Regions from separate parts of the Homo sapiens genome. Here regions 1, 2, 3, 4, 5 and 6 are each linked to region 7. Evidence: promoter capture Hi-C in human tissues and cell types (Jung and others, 2019). All regions are on one chromosome and are shown on one strand. Each heading gives the region's core, a stretch centred on a gene start or on the middle of the fragment in contact. The rest is flanking DNA. Distances are from core to core; before and after follow the strand shown. Region 1 has its middle 130 kb from the start of LINC02629. Region 2 overlaps PARD3 (par-3 family cell polarity regulator). Region 3 has its middle 88 kb from the start of LINC02629. Region 4 overlaps PARD3 (par-3 family cell polarity regulator). Region 5 has its middle 150 kb from the start of LINC02629. Region 6 has its middle 160 kb from the start of LINC02629. Region 7 holds the start of NRP1 (neuropilin 1).

Region 1 (2,700 bases), core at 140-2,639, 700 kb after region 7:
AACCCGTCTGCATCTAGCCCTGCTGTGGCGTCTACAAGAGACACAGATGATTGAACTTAAAGTTTGAGTGCATGATGGAAGGGTCAGAAATGTTATCAGAATAGTTCACAGTGATTTTTCTCCCATTATCTTTCCTATTTCATCAGTGGCTGTAAGGACAAGCAAGTGTCCCTGGAGAGGTTCAGACCCATCAGGTGTGTGTCCTGAGCTGCAGGATTCCCCCATGGATGTTTACTCTCTTCTTACATCTCCATCTGCCCGGCTTTGCTCCCAGCACAGGGAATGTTCCTATAGGACTGTACCCTACAACCAGGCCTTGGCAATCTGGCCTAGAGGGCAGGTATGGCTGGAGGGCAGACAGGAGATTAGTGTGGCTGTGCAAGTGGGGTCTCCCTTGGGCTCTGCTCCCCTTAAGCCCAGGCCTGCATTGCAGAATATTCCACAGGCCAAGCAAGTGATAGACCAGAGAAGGAAGGGCCATTTATTTCAGTACTTAACTTTCTTCACTGGAGCAGTCGATTAATTGCTGGTGCATATTAGCCTTTTTCTCTGCGTTGTGTTACACAGACTCTTTAAGGATAAGGTGCTCATCCGAGTCATGGTGACTTTTGCACAGTGCAGAGCAGGGTGCCAGGGATATATTGGGATTTAGAGTTTGAGGGTGGATGCATGGGCTTTGAGTCTCTGTTTTTGAGCCTTGTTCCCCATCCTAACCATCCTCTATCTATGAAAATGTGACTTCCATCTGTGGCAAAGGATCATGAAAGTTTGCCAAAATTTTCCCTGCTGCAGAGCTTCTCTCTGGCCAAATATGACTCAATCAGGTCTTAAGCAAAAGGCCTGGAACGTCTGTCACTTCCAGAGGCCTCATGCCAAGCACAGGATGTGAAAGCTCACTTCTTCCTTCTACTGCCCACTTACACTGCACAAGAGAAATCTCGCCTCCACTCTCCGTTGACCTTCCTCTCAGAAGCACAAAGGCATTAGCTCACTTTGGGCTCAACATTGCCAGCAGTCACAGATTTCTGCACCATGGTGTCTCCTCTCTTTCCCTGGAGGGAATCCCAAACTTGCTCTCACCTTGGAATATTTTTGGGGCCCTGTGAACTGGATAGGAATGGCAAAAGGACTCAAAGTAGCTGGGCTTCCTGCATTTCCTTCTGAACCTCCTTGCTACCTCTAACTTACACTGGAACAGTAGACATAGAGCCAGGGCAGTGTCTAGCACATAGTAGATGCATAAATGGTTGTTGAAAGTTTTGGTGCAAAGACATAAACTGTCATGGATTTTCAAGCACTCATGAAAGACTGTTAGACAGCCTTTCCTGCAGGATACCTCCTGGAATCCTGTTAATTGGATTCTTCTTGAAGCATGGATAACAACACAATAAGTATCTTATACCTAAGATATATCCATATAGACAAACAACCATTAAAGAATTACTTTCTTATCATTTCCATTAAATTCAACTAATGTCAATTATATGACTTCTCTACACAAACCTCTATGCCAGCTGCAAGACCAGAATGAGAAGGACATTTCATTCTCATTCAGGAATGAATGTGTTTTCAGGAAGCACAACTCTATTGCAAGGATGAGTTTACCAGGCCAATGGCTTCCTGCTTAGTTAACAGGTTCTCAATGCATCTTCATCATGATGAAGATGATGAAGATGGCTATCTCCAAAGTATGGAACCAGCATCAGTACTGATGTGAGGCTGGCTCTATGTTTTGAGTTTCTATGTAACAAACTGTAACCTAACTTAGTAAGTAAACAAACAAAAACCTAGTTTAGGAATATCTTTCTGTTACAAACAGCCAAGCTTCAGCCAATCATAGACAGCCAACTGATCACCTCATGCCCAAACAAGGTAAATGCCTAGCTGTAGCCAATTAGATGATTTCTCTACTTCGCTTCTCTGTTCATCCTATAAAAGCTTGCTGGTCATGCTGCTGAGTGGACCTCTCTTCTGGTTCTGAATGCCGCCTGATTCATGAATTGTTCTTCGCTCTGTTAAATTTAATTGTCTATGCTCATGCCCATAATCACAGTGCTTTGGGAGGTTGAGGCAGGAGGATGACTTGAGGCCAGAAGTTCAAAACCAGCCTGGGCAACATACCAAGATTCTGTCTCTACAAAATAAATAAATACATAAAAATAAAGACATTTAATTGTCTAATTGTTTTTTAACAGACCTAAGTCTTATAACACCCACGAGCATGATTGTTCCCGGAAGTGGGGTTGGTGGAGGGAGGCAGGGTCAAGGTTAATTTAGGAAGTGATGTTACCCTGGGCTTTGAGTGGGAGCTAGGGTTTTCCTAGATACCAGGTATGTATGGTGGGGGTGGGGGGTTGCAGGAAGCAGGGTTAAGTGAGAGTGCAGAAGAACAGACTTTCCTGGCAGGGGAGATCCTGAGCATAGCCACAGAAGAGTGAAGACACGTGAGTTCTTTAGGGGCAGTGACTAACCTCACGTGCCTGCCTTCAGTGAGAGGTGTGTAGGGGATGAGGAGTGGCCACAGGGGCTGGAATGACGCAATGGGCCTCTTAGAAATGGCATTACTCACCATGCTTGGGAGGCGTCCTACAAGCAGGTAGGGTTCCCCCACCCAACAATTTTATTTTATTTTGTTTGTTTGTTTGTTTTTGTTTTTGTTTTTTGAAATAAGGTCTCACTCTGTCGCCCAGGCTGGAGTGC
Region 2 (2,700 bases), core at 185-2,684, 990 kb after region 7:
AACTGATTTATCATGGGGAGGAGAAGTCGCTTGCTGAGAGCCAGGCTGGGCATGTAATTTGCATAGAAGAGGGAGCAGATTGTCAATGCCCTGACCTGTCAAACACAGGTAGGGCCTCGGAGATAATGGGTCCCAGAATACAAAGCTCCATCTTGATCCAGACAGACGCACACAACATGGAGAGGCCAGATGGATTAAATGAGACACAAAAATGCTGGCTTCTGCCATCTCCACAGGAAGAATGTAAGTGCTGCAGAAGATGACAGATACCAGATACCACATGGATCCCACCCCAGTCTCTTGGCCCCATTGCTGTGCCCATGCCATGATTTCCACACTGCTGAGAAGAGGCCAGCCTGTTCAGTGCCATGAATATAGTCACTGGGGAGGGGCTCGACCCAACTGACAAAAGCAATCAACCATGCCTACGCCTATGTGTCTTACTTGTAAAGAGGAAAAGTGCCACATGATGATAGAAATCAGAGCCTGCAGCACGGTGCAAGGAGCTCTCTGTTCCTGCTGACCTCCATAACTAGCTTTTCCACAATGGCTCAGTCTCTAGCCACGCATTTCCAGGGTGCACTGCATCCTCAGGAAATGTCCCATGTGACAAAAAGACCATCTGCCTAGACGAGGGTCCTCTTTTCAGATCCAGGTTCAAGGGGGATGTGGCTTTTTAATTTCTACGGGCAGCTGTAACTGAGTTGGACCATCGGGACAAGAAAGAACCCACTTCCCCTGAGGCCCACTTAGCACAGACAATAGAAGATGTTGGACATGCAGCCAGGGGACACATAGCTAAGGGACAAGCCCAGAAGGGCAAAAATGCAGGAGCATAGCCACAGAGACAGCAAGTCCAGAGACTCCGCTGTGCAGGTCCACAAGCCAGACGCTGAAAATGGTGTGGTTAGGAAGCCGAAGGAGGGCTAACTGAGCCAGCCTTCTTTCCAAAGCTGGAGGCAGAAAGTGCCTTCGCGTCTTCAGTTTTATGTAAGCTGACAGCCACCAGCAGTAACACCACATTTGATAGACAATTTTTTTTTAAACAAAAACAAAGAGTTTGCTGAAGTATTGAAGATCTAGTGCATACAAGGTCCAGTGTGGGATACCTCACTCACCCACTCATCGATTTGGCAGACATTTATTTAATTCTATGATTTGCCAAGCTTTGTGTTTGGTAATGCAAGATGGAAATAGATGGGGTGTTTTCCACATGGGCCTCGCAAAAGGTGAGGGGGTTAGCGTGCCAGAAGTAGGGCAGTGAGGGGGTACATAGAATCATGGAATGTTAAACTAGGAAGGACTTCGGAAACCATCTAAACCATCTAAGCCAGAACTTTTACAACTTTTTCCTAAATACTCAAAAACACCCTTTTTAAAAACTAAAATTTACAAAGGATCCCCATGTACAGAAGTGAGTAAAACAACTGTGAAGGTGGTGGTGGGGGGAAGGTGACACTGGTGGCCTTTCCCACTCTCCAAACCCATTGAGGTACTGCTCCTGACCAGAGATCACAACACACCAGTTGAAAGTCAATTATCTAGTCCAAATCTTCAGTTTTACAAATGAAGAAATTAAAGCTCAAGCAGTTGAAGTTTTGACTAAAATCCCAAATTACTTAGAAGAATGTAGAGGAGGATGCAAGTCACCTGAATTCCACTTCTGTGTTCATTCCACCCTATAAACACGATTTCAACAACCAAAATTGGAAAAGTTTGGAATTTACAATAGTTGCCATTCATTTGCCATATGCAAAGTTCAGAAGACTGGTATGCAAAAAATAATAAAAACAGGACTTTTGAAAAATACAACATTTGGTGGTTGTAGGTGCAGCGTGTTTTAGGGCACCTGCCACACGTGTATTTCCCAGGTCTTGTCCAGAACTTTATCTTTGGTTTGCAAATTGTAATTTGCCTATCCATGTGTTTCATTTCACTTTTTTTCTCTGAAGGACAGATACATGAATGAACTTTAATATACTGTTATTTCTCATTTTGTTTTTTAAAAAATAAGTTTATATAGGGACAAAATCAGATGTCCATGTTGGTGGGACACTCTGGAGGCTATCCCTACAGAATTAAAAATATACCTTATATTCATATGTATTCTATCTCCTGTTACATTTGAAATGAGTGAAATATTATAAGAGCAAACTGCATTTTTTAAGGAAAATTAAATAACATTTTAACCAGAACAAGAAAAAAGTTCAAAAGCATCATTATAGATACTTAAAAAATATATATCAAGGGGCCAAAGCATAGTAATTTTTGATTAAATATACACCCAAGACAGAGAGAAGCAAGCTCTATAATTGTCAAGTAATATTGATTAGGATGGCAAGGAACCATTATTACAAAGAGAAAAAACTCAATAGGGTCGAAAGCTTATATGACTCAGGATCTTGGAGACCAGGTTTGGCAGCAAAAATAGTAAATATGCTCCTCATCCTGCAAGAATGGGCTGCATATATTCACAGCCGGGAGGAAGAGGTGGGCCTGGAGAGGACACCAGGAGGCTGCAACTGGGTCTGGAGAGGCTGACCTAAGGAAGTTCTGGGCCTGGAGAGGCCGCCAAAAGGGAAAAACTGGGCCTGGAAAGGCCCAGTTGTGAGGAATCTGATCATAGTGACAAAACTGCCTGGATTTAGATGGAGAATCAGGTGGAGGTGGAGAGAAGTGTAGCAATCCTCTAAGTTATGC
Region 3 (2,700 bases), core at 150-2,649, 660 kb after region 7:
TACATTCTTCTCTGGGCACATTTAATTTACTTTCATTCTTTGGAAAGCTCCCAAAATTTTCATTTTGCTTATCTTATCTCTCTTATACTTCCCTTTTGGCCATTTTATCTACTTCCATGGCGTATATGAGGATAATTACTAAATATATGTCTCAACCTCAAACCCAAGCTTCTGACCATAGGGTATATCCATGAGTGTTCCAAAGCCTTCTCATCCACAACATGTCAAACAGCTTTATCCTTACATCTATACATCTATCTACGTCTATCCTTTTATCCATCTATTCATCTATCTATTCGTCCATCCGTCCATCTATCCATCCATCTATCCAATCTATGTATCCATCCATCTATCCATCTGTCTATTCATGCATCTATCAATCTATCCATCCATTTATCTATTCAATTATCTATGCTTCTATCCATCTGTCCTTTTCTCCATCTATCTATTCATCCATCTAACTATCCATCCATTTATCTGTCCATCCATCCATCCATCCATCCATTCATCTGTCTATCTATACATCCATCTATCTATGAAAGGGGCCAAAAAATCCCAGGTGCTCTTCTTTTGGTCTTGGAGGGAAGTTCAAACCATAGGCAAACAACCCTTTCTCTTGCCCAACTCACTAACCACCATAAAAACTCCAAGCCACTTTTCTTTGCTGTTCTCTCAAGCCAATTTTAGACTTGCTTGGGAGCCACTCTACTCTCCCCTAGAAAGCCTCATTATGTGAGTAAAAAAACGTTCTCATACCTTCTTAGTGTGTGTGTGGCATCATCGGTCTCAACATCCAAGTCAAATTTTGGCTAAGATTCATCCTGGTTCTGTAGGGTGATTACAACATGTACCTTATTAATGGTCTATGCCTTACTGCAAATGTCAAACTACTCTGCCCAGCCTAGTTGCCTCATTAAATCCATTCACCAATTTTCATGAAGTTTAGATTCATTTATTTTACTCTGAAGAATAATATTCCACAATAAAGAAGAATATTCCCCTTTTTTCTTATTCTTTCAAATAAATTTTTGACCTAGGTTTCAAAATCTTCCATGACCAAAATCTCAACCAAAATTTCTATACTTGTTTTCTATTCTCGTTCATGTACCCTAAAATTTCACTAATTTGTTGCCATCCACCTACCCTCAGCAGGCCTTGCATTTTCTTCTCTCTCTCTATTTTTTTAAGGAGGGCGGCTGTTGCCAGGGCAACCAGCTGGGCTGGGATTTTGTTGAGAATTCCGCCCTGCATTTTCTACACTTTGCACTTTTGTTCACAGTCTATTGCCTGAGATTGAATTGTCCTTGCCCCATTGCTTGCTGTCCAAATCACACCTGAATGGATCAGCTAGGATTTGTGGTGGGAAGAGACATAAAATTCATCCCAGATTAGAAAAATAATAAAAGATAACTTATTGACTCATATCATTTAAAAAGCCAAGAGTAGTTCAGGCTCCAGTTGAGGTCTGATACAGGGGCTCATATAATGTCCTCAGGATCTAGTTTCTCTCTTCAACTTGAAGTTCTGCAAGATTTCCATTCACCTCTCTTCACAGTCCCAAAGCCAGTGGAGAGGTAGAGGTTCTTTTTCCATGATTCCTGAAAAACTCCTGTATTAACTCGAGTCATCCTAGGTGGTATGTTACCCTGAAGCCAATCATAGCTAAGAGGGTGCAAAGCAATGAATGGCTTGGGCTCCAAAGGAAAATGGAGTAATTTTAATGTGTATATTACTAACAAAGGAGTTTTGCTGAAGGTTTTCAAATAACAGCGGCTACAAATATACTCTTAAACATTTTCCAGGTTAGCTGGGCATGCTGGCATGTGCCTGTAGTCCCAGCTGCTCAAGAGGCTGAGATAGGAGGATCACTTGATCCAAGGAGTTCAAGGCCAGCCTGGGCAACATAGTGAGACTTCATTTCAAAAAAAAAAAAAAAAAATCCTCCAAGTCATCTTCTGGTCTTAGAGCAAAAAGCAACAGAGTGTTAAAGAGAAGTTACCTGTGTAATGCTCTTGTAGAAAAAATTTCTTCCTGGGATCAAAGTCTCTCCCATACTCCAGGACTACTCGCAAGCCGAGGAAAGAAGTTCCAAAGGCAGGGCTGCAGGAAAAGACTCAGGGATCACCTAGGAGCTGAGGCTACATGTGCTGGCTCCCAAATTTGCTATTGCTTCTTTTTCAATCAACAGACAATGTGTCCCAAATGGGTAGGACAATGGGAATTACAACGGAGGACATGCCAAGGGTGTGGAAGAGAGAAGGCCGAGGAAACAAGCTTGCATAACTAAAGTTGTCTTCTTGAGTTATTATTATAACTAAAGGTGTAAAACATGCCAAATTAAATTGCAAAATCTCTAAAATTTCTGGGAAATAATTGGCCTAGCTCCCCAAAATCCAATGCCAGTGAATTTTAATTTTTTGCTTTAAAATAAACATCATTACTCGAATTGGGAGGTCATTATGTTAAGTGAAATATGCCCAGCACAGAAAAACAAATATCATGTGTTCTCACTTACATATGGGGGCTACAAAAGTTGATCTCATGGAGGTAGAGAGTAGAATGATAAATACCAGAGGTTGGGAAGGATGGGAGGTGGGGGGATAAAGAGAGGTTGATTAATGGGTACAAACAAAAATTTAGGAGGAATAAGTTTTGTTTGTTTGTTTTTTGTTTTTGTTTTTGTTTTGAGACAGAGTCTCA
Region 4 (2,700 bases), core at 25-2,524, 900 kb after region 7:
TGTTAAAATAATAAAGCTCAAAGTAGTACTTCTCCATGTACGTAGGATTGGGAATTAAGCATGTTGTCTTTTTAAACTTAGCATTTGGATGCAGTATTTTATATGCGTCTCCTGGCTTGGCTTCACACTGGTAAATGGTGTTTCATCAGGCCAAATGATGGGAAGGGTGGTCCATGAATTTAGTTTATGAATACTGACATATTTCAACCCACAAATAGGAATATAACATTGCATCAAAATGGAGCAAAAAGAGAAAAAAGCAGCAGCCAATAGGAAAATCTAGATGAACTAAACAAAGGCACTTAATTTAATAATGAAAACCACTCCAACTTACAATGTACTGTACTCCACCTCTAGCCATTGAATTATTAAAATAAATGCATATTCAGATGTTTCCCAAAGATGCTTTCCTTCTCTTTCAGATTCAAAAGAACGCCACTCTAATCCAATACAATTCTTTTCACTCTGCATTTCAGCAGCTGTCTTTCCTGATTTCTAATCAAAGCTGATGATAACTGGCTTTGGCAACAGACTGTAGTATCCCAAATGAGTAATTAAGGCTATAAATGTGCTCACTTCTTCCTCAAAACCCAGGGTGCATTTCATAGCCTAACAGATTCAGGCTCAACAAGGCTCTCCTGGTTGTTTTAATTTGGTCAGAATTTTTAATACATTAATAAAAGAATAGCTGAGGTTTTGTGTTAGCATTTTTCAATAGCTAGTTCCACTTAAACAATACAAATGTCAGTAGGGCTAACAAACTCCCTTAGTCCCAAACATCTCCCACACATAGGGGTCCCAGACAAAGAAGCTGGTAGCCAACAATCGGTTTTGACTAAGAAAGAGAAATACATGCCCTTAAAAAAAAAGCCTAAGAAAATATTTTGAAAATCACAGGAAATGCTTTTTAAAAAACCATGCAGTGCTGAACACTTTAAAATCTCAGAGAAACAGTGGTGACGGGAATAGACACTCACTTGGAAGATGACTCTAACCTGAAGGAATACGTCTCTCTTCTAACTCACTCCACCTCCTATAAGAAAGATTCTGAGTAACTCATAAAATGGAGGAAAATCCTAATAAATCCACTGTGTCAACCTGATTAAAAATAAGCAGCATTTTTTCCAGCTCTTAATAACTGCACTGTACAGCCATGAATATACATGGTTTTAAATATACATAACTTCAGAATAGAAATTTAACACTGACATATTTTATTTTAAACTTTTTTTTCTTCCTCATGCCACCAGTTTAAGAGCACTGACATATTTTAAAAGGAGAATAGACCTTCATTACAAATACAGATGGGTATTTTAAGAAAATAATCTAAAATAAGAGAAACAGTTCACCATTTCGGAATTTGTTTGCTTACATGCTTGACATGATTTGTTTTAAGTTAAATCGAACATTTTATTTAAGGTCATGTGAATTCTTAAAGAGAACTGGTGAATTACTAAGCTCTGATAGGCCATTTCTTTAATCTAACACCATCCTGAGGCTGGCAGCCCACTGAGTGCTGAGAGGATAAGCAAAAAGAGAATGTGGAGAACAGCTCTAGGCACGGTGGCCGATGGAAGGGTGCTCACTGGCTTCTTTCTGAAACAGCCTGGTGGACATCAGTACCAAAAGCGGAGCCTCCGCCTTGAGCAGAGGGCTCAGGGGAAGAAGTGTCAAGGCAGAGGCAGACACAGACTGAGAGAAGTGGGCTGAAGTCTACTTTCAGATGGAATCCTGGTTCCCCTAAGATCTTTCTGCTAAAACCAAAGTTTTTAAAAATTGGTGTTTGTGGGCCTGGTATGGTGGCTCATGCCTGTAATCTCAGCACTTTGGGAGGCCGAGGCGGGTGGATCACTTGAGGTCAGGAGTTTGAGACCAGCCTGACCAACCTGGTAAAACTTCATCTCTGCTAAAAATACAAAAAAGTAGCCGGGCATGGTGACGTGTGCCTGTGATCCCAGCTACTCAGGAGACTGCGACAAGAGAATCACTTGAACCTAGGAGGTGGAGTTTGCAGTGAGCCAATAACGCGCCATTGCATTCTAGCCTGGGCAATGGAGTGACACTCCATCTCAAAAAAAAAAAAAAAATTGGTGTTTGCCTTAAGTAGAAATACCCTACCATCTTTTGATAATATTATCTGAAAATGAAAAAATATGAGTATTTTTAGAGTTTAAAAATATTTTATTGGCAGGAAATAGGATAGATCATGGACATCTGTCATAGTTCATTTTAAGTTGTTACAAGATAGTAGGAAATTGGATAAACAGAAGCAGCAGCTAACAATCACTGAGCAATCCTATGTGACAGGAACATTCTCAGTGATTTAGCGTATGACCCCCGTCTAATTCCTTTAGGTTGTTTAAGGCACAATTATGATTCCCTTTTACAGACCAAGAAACCGAGGCTTAGAGGTTAAGCAACTTGATCGAGATAAATCCATAAAATGAAAGATCATGCAGCCACTTAAAAAATGTTCTCGTAAGAGAATACAGCGTGGTCTGGAAAGATGTTCGTGACTTATTAGGTAAGAGGGCACATTACTAAAGAGTTATGTAGAGTATGATTTTATTTTCAGTTCTGAGTAAGTACAGATGTGCAAATAACTGTATGTGTCTAAGCATATACTCTAAAATATTAAAAATTATTGTTTTGGGGGCTGGATGATCTTTTCCCTTTCCTATGTTTTGTAAGTTTTATACA
Region 5 (2,700 bases), core at 118-2,617, 720 kb after region 7:
CACACACAAAGAACAGGTACTTCATCATGAGCTGTCCAATTTCAAAACAATAGTCATTTTCTCTCCACACCAGTCTGAAAACCAGCCCCATTAAGGATCATGATCAGACCATATTGATCACTTCTCTAAGCATCTCTTCAAGGGACATCTCTAGACATACTTGACTGAGCTGGATTTAATTTAAGCACTTTGCTGTCTACAAATTCTATCAGTTTAGCCTTGTGAAAAATTAGGACATTACGGCTCCAGCTTCCCTAAGGAACTCTGAGCACTGATGTTCTCAATGCCCTGCACCTCCCCTGCTTGGGAACGACCACCCCTCCTTGCCAGGAGAACCCTGAGTTGCTGGCACCTTCTCATCCATGAAGCACACTGTCTTGCTACCCAGATTTCTCTCCTGAAAAGCAATGGCCTACAGAGTGAAAACTAAGGCCATATGCCCAACACTCTTAACACATTCCGTCCAACTCTGAGAAGCAAATTTGCCGTTTACAAGGGGAGAAGAATGAAGCCACTTGAAAGAGCCACATCCCCTTCTCATCTAGTTTTTAAAAAATCATCTTTGCACAAAGAAATGACAAGTGCTTGAGGTGATAGATACCCCAATTACTCTGATGCATTATGCACTCTATGCCTGTCTCAAAACATCACATGTACTCCATAGATATATCCATCTACTATGTACCCATAAAAACTAAAAATTTTTAAAAAATCATCTTTGTTGCCTCCAGAGAGGGTCATTCTGGCCACGCCTGCTGGTCTGATTCTGTGAGTCATTGACAGTGGGGCAGAGTGGGAACTAGGGATATGCAGAGGAGATAGATTTTCAGCCCCTTTACTTTCTTGAAACTATTTCCTCTCGTCGTGTGAATGGAATTTTTAAAATGATATCTAAAGCACAGTAGGAAAATAATGTAAATCAAGTGCTAGGAAATTCTTCCCTCCAGGCACCATTCAAAAACCAAACTCATTTGAGAGAAGTTCCAGGGGTTCGGAACAGTTGAGAGGGGGCTTGCTTTAGCCTTGCTGGATGACATCAAGGCAAAAGATGAGAGTGTGTGAGGGATCAGCGCGGAGGTCCTGAGCTCAGAGCAGGAGTTGTGAGTCAGCCTTGGAGACGCCCACTGCAAACAAGCATTCAGGCTTGTCGAGATGATTTCTGGAGGTTAAGTGTAGGTGGATCTCGTGTTTCAGATGCTTTCAGCGTATTTTGTCATCTCATTTGTTCCATTAAGGTTTGTTTAAAAGAAAAAAATCCAGGAAACTAACGTCAACAACTAAGAGAATTTTGTAAATATCATTCCTCCCACTTCAAGCGACATTGCCTACATCAATGCTAACCCATACGTTAGTAATGCTTTTGAAAGGAATTATGTGAAGACAACAGTCTAAAGTTCCTATTATTGCAGAAAGCTTTTACCAAATATCTGCTTTTATTTTACACTTCTGAATACAAGGAACCAGGACCATGCTTTTAAGTATAAGCCTTATTCTGAAATGGATGAGTAATGTTGCCAAGAAACCAAGAAGCCGGTGGGCAGCAAAGCAGAAACGTGATGTGGAATAATGACTTCGGTGCAGTTCCTCACACTTATATAACATATGTCTCTGCATCTATGGGGGGCAAGCGTGTATGCTTAAATAGCCCACCCAAAAGGGGTAGAAACAATAAGAGCAGAGCGTTCCTCTAAGGAGGGTATGGTTGTAGTGAGACATCAAGAAACAGTCAGAGGCTGGGCATGGTGGCTCACGCCTATAATTCCAGCACTTTGGTAGGCCAAGGCAGGTAGATTATGAGGTCAGGAGTTCAAGACCAGCCTGGCCAACATGGTGAAACCCTGTCTCTACTAAAAATACAAAAAAAAAAAAAAAAAAAATAGCTGGACGTGGTGGCAGGCGCCTGTAATCCCAACTACTCGTGTGGCTGAAGCAGGAGAATTGCTTGAACCCAGGAGGCAGAGGTTGCAGTGAGCCGAGATCTCCCCATTGCACTCCAGCCTGGGTGATAAGAGCAAAACTCCATCTCAAAAAAAAAAAAAGAAAGAAAGAAAGAAAGAAACAGCCAGATATAATGAAGAGGCTGAGTGAGATGGTAGTCTTTTAGGTAACACTTGGAATGAAAAGGAGCTATGGTTTTTGTGTGTTTCTCACTTAAAACCAGAGTGTTATTATCCTTTACCATTGCATCAGCAGGAAGCATTGAAGGTTGTGAAAGTTCTTTTGGTTGGTTGGTTTGTTGGTTGTTGGTTGATTAGTTGGCTGGTTGGTTGGTTGATTGGTTGGTTGGTTTGTTGGTTGGTTGATTGCTTGGTTGGTTTGTTGGTTGGTTGATTGCTTGGTTGGTTGGTTGGTTGTTGGATTTGGGATACAGAAGCAAAGAAAAGGGAGGAGAAAAAGAGCACTCAAAATGCAGTTGGTGAACAGTGTGCAGCTAGGAAGGAAACCTCTGCTCCTGGTGCTCCACTCAGAGAAAATAGAGGGTGCTATTTCACTAGAACCACAGCAAAAGCATCACAGTGTAGTACGGAAGCTTCTGTCTCATCCTAAGGATGGGGTTGAAGCCAGCTCAAGTTTGGGACTGATTCAAACTAACTGAGATAATCTTTCCAACTAAGAAAAGACTTGTAATCCAAATTATAAAATGTGGTGTGGCCCTTCCTCTTCCTTCCCTTCCCTGAACTATGTAGTCTTAGAGCTATC
Region 6 (2,700 bases), core at 118-2,617, 730 kb after region 7:
ATTCTTCAACTTTGGCTCTGTCTTGGATGCACTTCCTCAAAGTTTTTTATTATTTAGGGTTTGTTTAAACTTTTTTGTTTCTTTCTTTTTTCTAGACAGGGTCATCTTGCTCTGTCACCTTGGCAGGAAGGCAGTGGCATGATCATAGCTCACTGCAGCTTCTAACTCTGGGTCTCAAGCAATCCTCCCACCACAACCTCCCAAGTAGCTGGAACTACAGGTACACACCATCACATTTGGCTAATTTTTAAAAAAAAATTTTTGTAGAGACAGCATCTTGCTATTGTTGCCAAGTCTGGTCTCAAATTCCTGGGCTCAGTTGTTCCTTCCACTTTGACCTTCCAAAATGTGGAACAACAGGCATGAACCACCCTACTCAGCCCACTTCCTCATCTGATTGCCAGGAGAGCATCTGATTGATTGCCAGTCCTGGATCTTCTACCTGCACCCCATTATCCAGGAAGTAGGGAGAGGGAGTAAGTGGCCCCTAAAACATTGTTAGTCACAGGTGAGGTACCTCCTCCACCCAAGCCTCACATGATCAGAAAGTTGAGACTCTAGACAGCCAGAAACACATCATTCACAACAGATAGTTTAAAAAGTTGGTGGATGCGTCCAAGATGGCCGAATAGGAACAGCTTTGGTCTACAGCTCCCAATGAGATCAATGCAGAAGATGGGTGATTTCTGCATTTCCAACTGAGGTACCTGGTTCTTCTCATTGGGACTGGTTGGACAGTGGGCACAGCCTATGGAGGGTGAGCAGGGTGGGGCATCACCTCAACTGGGAAGTGCAAGAAGTTGGGGGATTTCCCTTTCCTAGGCAAAGGAAGCCCTGAGTGACTGTACCTGGAGGAGCAGTACACTCCTGCCCAAATACTGTGCTTATCCCATGGTCTTCGCAACCAGCAGACCAGGAGATTCCCTCCCATATCTGGCTTGGCAGGTCCCATGTCCATGGAGCCGTGGTCACTGCTAACACAACAGTCTGAGATCAACCTGGGACATGGGAGCTTGGTGAGGGGAGGGGCGTCTGCCATTGCTGAGGCTTGAGTAGGTGGTTTTATGCTCACAGTGTAAACAAAGCTGCAGGGAAGCTTGAACTGGGCGGAGCCCACTGCAGCTCAGCAAGGCCTACTGCCTCTATAGACTCCACCTCTGGGGACAGGGCATATCTGAACAAAAAGCAGCAGACAGCTTCTCTAGACTTAAACGTCCCTGCCTGACAGCCCTTAAGAGAGCAGTGGTTCTCCCAGCACAGCGTTTGAGCTCCGATAATGGACAAACTGCTTCCTCAGGTGGGTCCCTGACCCCCATGTTGCCTGACTGGGAGACACCTCCCAGGAGGGGCCAACAGACACCTCATACAGGCAGGTGCCCCTCTGGGATGAAGCTTCCAGAGGAAGGATCAGGCAGCAATATTTGCTGTTCTGCAGCCTCCACTGGTGATACCCAGCCAAACAGGGTCTGGACTGGACTCCCAGCAAACTCCAACAGACCTGCAGCTGAGGGGTCTGTCTGTTAGAAGGAAAACTAACAAACAGAAAGGAAGAGCATCAACATCAACAAAAAGGACATCCACACCAAAACCCCATCTGCAGGTCACCAACATCAAAGACCAAAGTTAGATAAAACCACAAAGATGGGGAGAAACCAGAGCAGAAAGGCTAAAAATTCCAAAAACCAGAATGCCTCTTCTCCTCCAAAGGAACCCAACTCCTTGCCAGCAAGGGAACAAAACTGGACATAGAATAAGCTTGATGAGTTGACAGAAGTATGCTTCAGAAGGTCAGTAATAACAAACTTCTCCGAGCTAAAGAAGCATGTTCTAACCCATTGCAAGGAAGCTAAAAACCTTGAAAAAAGGTTAGACGGATGGCTAACTAGAATAACCAGTGTAGAGAAGAGCTTAAATAACATGATGGAGCTGAAAACCACAATACGAGAACTTCGTGAAGCATACACAAGCTTCAATAGCCGATTTGATCAAGCAGAAGAAAGGATATCAGTGATTGAAGATCAAATTAATGAAATAAAGTGAGAAGACAAGATTAAAGAAAAAAGAGTGAAAAGAAAAAAACAAAGCCTCTAAGAAATATGGGACTATGTGAAAAGACCAAATCTATGTTTGATTGGTGTACCTGAAAGTGACGGGGAGAATGGAAGCAAGTTGGAAAACACTCTTCAGGATATTATCCAGGAGAACTTCCCCAACCTAGCAAAGCAGGCCAACATTCAAATTCAGGAAATACAGAGAACATCACAAAGATACTCCTCAAGAAGAACAACCCCAAGACACATAATTGTCAGATTCACCAAGGTTGAAATGCAGGAAAAAATGTTAAGGGCAGCCGGAGAGAAAGGTCAGGTTACCCACAAAGGGAAGCCCATCAGACTAACAGCAGATGTCTTGGCAGAAACCCTACAAGCCAGAGAGTGGGGGCCAATATTCAACATTCTTAAAGGAAAGAATTTTCAACCCAGAATTTCATATCCAGCCAAACTAAGCTTCATAAGTGAAGGAGAAATAAAATCCTTTACAGACAAGCAAATGCTGAGAGATTTTGTCACCACCAGGCCTGCCTTACAAGAGCTCCTGAAGGAAGCACTAAACATGGAAAGGAACAACCAGTACCAACCACTGCAAAAACATGCCAAATTGTAAAGACCATTGATGCTATGAAGAAACTGCATCAATTAA
Region 7 (2,700 bases), core at 62-2,561:
TCATAAAGATGTGATTTAAATTCCTGTTGGTATGAGGCCCTCCACTTGCGGTCTCTTATTAAAACAATATACCACAGTAAGTAGTGGATGTTCTTTTCTTCTAATTACTGTGATTGAAATCTAAGCCAGACAAAAGTAAATATTTGATCATTAGTTAATAACAATTGCTGACGACTTACTGTAAAGATAATTGCATACCCTTGCCTGCACTTACTTTACAGTGTGAAGTCAAACATGCCTACAACCAGATCCCATTTTAAAACACATTATTTAGGTTACATGGTACTGTTTAGACCCCAGTATAGTTTTTCATTTACTTAACAGTGAGTGATTTTAAAAGCTAAGTGGAAGCTGCAACTAGCTTAGGGATTTTCAGATATCCTGGTGCCTTACACTGTATATGTCAGATTCCTGTATTGATACTATGTAACTTTCAGTCATACTCCAGACAGATTACGGAAGGTGTACAAAGGCGGGGGAGGGAGTTTCATCAACCCACAAACCGATATCTCTGGCCGTCACCCACCAGAGGAAACGGCTTAGGGGAGCAGCAAAGGAACCAGGAAGTAAGATCTCCTGGTAAAGTGTTCATTAACTTTCAACAGCCATCAGATTTTTGAAAGGGAGTCTCTTCTAATTGCCTTTGGGAGGAAACATTATTAAGATAATTGGCATGCTGATCTGGGAAGGTAGACAGCTCTGTCTTGTAACAGAGGTAAGGAAAAGCCCCACAGCCCAAGGATCAACGTCAGGAGGGAGCCCAAAGACCTGAAATCCTCCTGCTCTAAACCGCCTGATCTCATTTCTTCTTCTCTCCTCCCAGATAAAAGTTTCCTTCGCCCGGGAGTCGGTTGTTCCCGGCTGATCCCGGGAAGCCCCGCCTGAGCCCCGGTCCGGGGCGGGCAGCTGGGAGCCGGGGCGCCGCTGTCACCCGCGCCTCTGCCTGTCACTTACCGTTGCGAAAAGCGCCGGCCGGGGCGAGGACGAGGGCGAGCACGGCGCAGAGGAGCGGCAGCCCCCTCTCCATTCTCCCTTCTCCGGGTCCGCAGGCAGACGCGGGAGAACGAGGACGTGGGGGGAAATGCAGCAAAGAGGAGAATCTAAGCGATCCGAAGAGCCCCAACTCCGCCTAGAGCTGTACAATCCTCAGCCCGTCTTGGAGAAAAGAAAGCAGCGAGGCAATGCCTGGATCCGAGAGGAACGCTTCTCTTTTTGTGTCTCAAGTCGCCTGCATCCTGTCATTTAGCTCCGGCTTCCTCTCCCTTTTCCCACACTTGTTCCTCTTCCAGGAGCCACTGCCCGGGCCATGTCTCAAAAAAAAAAAAAAAAAAAAAAAAGGCCGGGGGGGGGCTGTGGGTGGGAGGGGGAGGAGGGAGGTAGGGCAACACACACCAAAGCCAATTTCCAGGAAGAAAAAAAAAAAATCCGGCTTGTTTCTGGACCCGTTGGAGCCGCGGAGCTGGCGCCCAGGGGAGGTCCGGGTGTCTGCGGGAAGGAGGGGAACGAGCAATGAAAAGATGAGCGGGAGACAGAGGAGTTTCACCAACTGCACCCCCGCCTCCCCTCCTGCGGCCTCCCCCCACTCCGGAGCCCTTCCCTCGCTTCCTCCCGCCCCTCTCCCCGCTTGGGCTCGCCTGTAATTGCCTGACAGGAGACTGGGAGGAACAACTTTCCCTCCGAGTGCTCTCCCCGTCCGTCTGTCTGTCTTTCCCAGAGACCCTGCAGGGATCTCCGCGGGAAGGAAGGCGCTGGGAGTCTGCGCCCCGGTCGCGTGGGTGCGGGCGTCGGAGGAAGGGGCGCGGAGGTCAGTGCCAGCCGCAGGGTCTGGCCAGCCCACCTCGCGTGCTCGCTCTGCACCCCTAGAGGGAGAGCTGGGCAGCTCCTGCAGGCGCAGATCCCGCCGCCGCGCAGTGCGGAGCGCCCGGGAGGTGGCGGCTGCTTCTCGCAACTTCAAATCCCGGGGCCCGCGCCCTCGGCGGCGAGGAACGCAGGGTCACCCCCTGCCACTCCTCATCGCGCCATCCTGAGACCTGTGGCGGGGAGCAGCGGGGCACCCCTGGACGCCCCTGCCCAGAGCTGGAGGGCGAGGAGGGGAAAGCCGGGCTGGAGTGGGAGCCGCACCGCGAAGCCGGGCGAGGGGCAGCAGTGTCGCTGTGGTGTGAAGCGAAGACAGACCGCCTGGGCGGGCGAGGCCGGGCTGCAGCCCCACGCGGCCTCCCTGGCCCGCATCAGGGCGCGCGGCTGGGTGCCCTCTGCGCGCCGCGGAGGCTTCATTGTTTCCCGAGATTTGGTGCCCGTTCCTCTGGGGCAGAGGGAACACCGGAGGGTGGGAGGTGCTGCGCCTTCCAAGCAGGGGGGCAATCGCCGCCCGACCCCGCCCAACCTTGTCTGGGAGCCCAGGTGCTAGGGAGGGGTGTGGAAATCAGGGGTCGGGCGGCCCCCGTTTCTCTGTGCATCCCGAGGGAGGGAAAGAGTGGCGGGGGAGGGGTGCTCTTCGCTGCGCCCTCTCAGTGTCCGCTCCCGGCCACAGACAACGTGCACGCCGGCCCTGGAGCTCCTGCCACCCCCACTTCCCACAGCGGCTCGTGCCCCCAGCCCGCTGGATGCCCCCCAGGCCCGTCCCCGAGGGTTTTCCGAGAAGTGCTGCAGGAAGCGTTTGTAGATGCGAAAAGCAAGGACATTTCTGGGAAGAAACAGGTT

What was found. The method cuts DNA at HindIII sites, captures the fragments that hold promoters and counts their contacts. A contact is called where the count stands out against the background at its distance.
Region 1: a contact is called between a fragment that was not itself captured here and the fragment with the promoter of NRP1 in region 7, in 1 of the 25 tissues and cell types used here (H1 embryonic stem cells).
Region 2: a fragment that was not itself captured here is called in contact with the fragment with the promoter of NRP1 in region 7 in 1 of the 25 tissues and cell types used here (dorsolateral prefrontal cortex).
Region 3: a fragment that was not itself captured here is called in contact with the fragment with the promoter of NRP1 in region 7 in 1 of the 25 tissues and cell types used here (lymphoblastoid cells).
Region 4: a fragment that was not itself captured here is called in contact with the fragment with the promoter of NRP1 in region 7 in 2 of the 25 tissues and cell types used here (aorta and heart left ventricle).
Region 5: a contact is called between a fragment that was not itself captured here and the fragment with the promoter of NRP1 in region 7, in 2 of the 25 tissues and cell types used here (IMR-90 fibroblasts and hippocampus).
Region 6: a contact is called between a fragment that was not itself captured here and the fragment with the promoter of NRP1 in region 7, in 2 of the 25 tissues and cell types used here (H1 embryonic stem cells and heart left ventricle).

Annotation. Positions count from the first base shown.
Region 1 is chr10:34,030,774-34,033,473 of GRCh38, forward strand. No RefSeq gene overlaps it. Among named protein-coding and RNA genes, the nearest start is that of LINC02629, 130 kb to the left of the region's middle. The HindIII fragment of the contact is 4,838 bases long and covers 1-2,700 here.
Region 2 is chr10:34,327,119-34,329,818 of GRCh38, forward strand. The region is part of intron 19 of PARD3 (par-3 family cell polarity regulator); the gene reads right to left. Among named protein-coding and RNA genes, the nearest start is that of LINC02629, 420 kb to the left of the region's middle. The HindIII fragment of the contact is 4,130 bases long and covers 1-2,700 here.
Region 3 is chr10:33,990,905-33,993,604 of GRCh38, forward strand. No RefSeq gene overlaps it. Among named protein-coding and RNA genes, the nearest start is that of LINC02629, 88 kb to the left of the region's middle. The HindIII fragment of the contact is 3,217 bases long and covers 1-2,700 here.
Region 4 is chr10:34,237,732-34,240,431 of GRCh38, forward strand. The region is part of intron 22 of PARD3 (par-3 family cell polarity regulator); the gene reads right to left. Among named protein-coding and RNA genes, the nearest start is that of LINC02629, 330 kb to the left of the region's middle. The HindIII fragment of the contact is 6,470 bases long and covers 1-2,700 here.
Region 5 is chr10:34,048,886-34,051,585 of GRCh38, forward strand. No RefSeq gene overlaps it. Among named protein-coding and RNA genes, the nearest start is that of LINC02629, 150 kb to the left of the region's middle. The HindIII fragment of the contact is 7,207 bases long and covers 1-2,700 here.
Region 6 is chr10:34,066,877-34,069,576 of GRCh38, forward strand. No RefSeq gene overlaps it. Among named protein-coding and RNA genes, the nearest start is that of LINC02629, 160 kb to the left of the region's middle. The HindIII fragment of the contact is 4,166 bases long and covers 1-2,700 here.
Region 7 is chr10:33,333,356-33,336,055 of GRCh38, forward strand. NRP1 (neuropilin 1) reads right to left here and starts at 1,312. Exons shown (of 17, transcript NM_003873.7): 1 at 955-1,312. The coding sequence starts at 1,027. The HindIII fragment of the contact is 10,676 bases long and covers 1-2,700 here.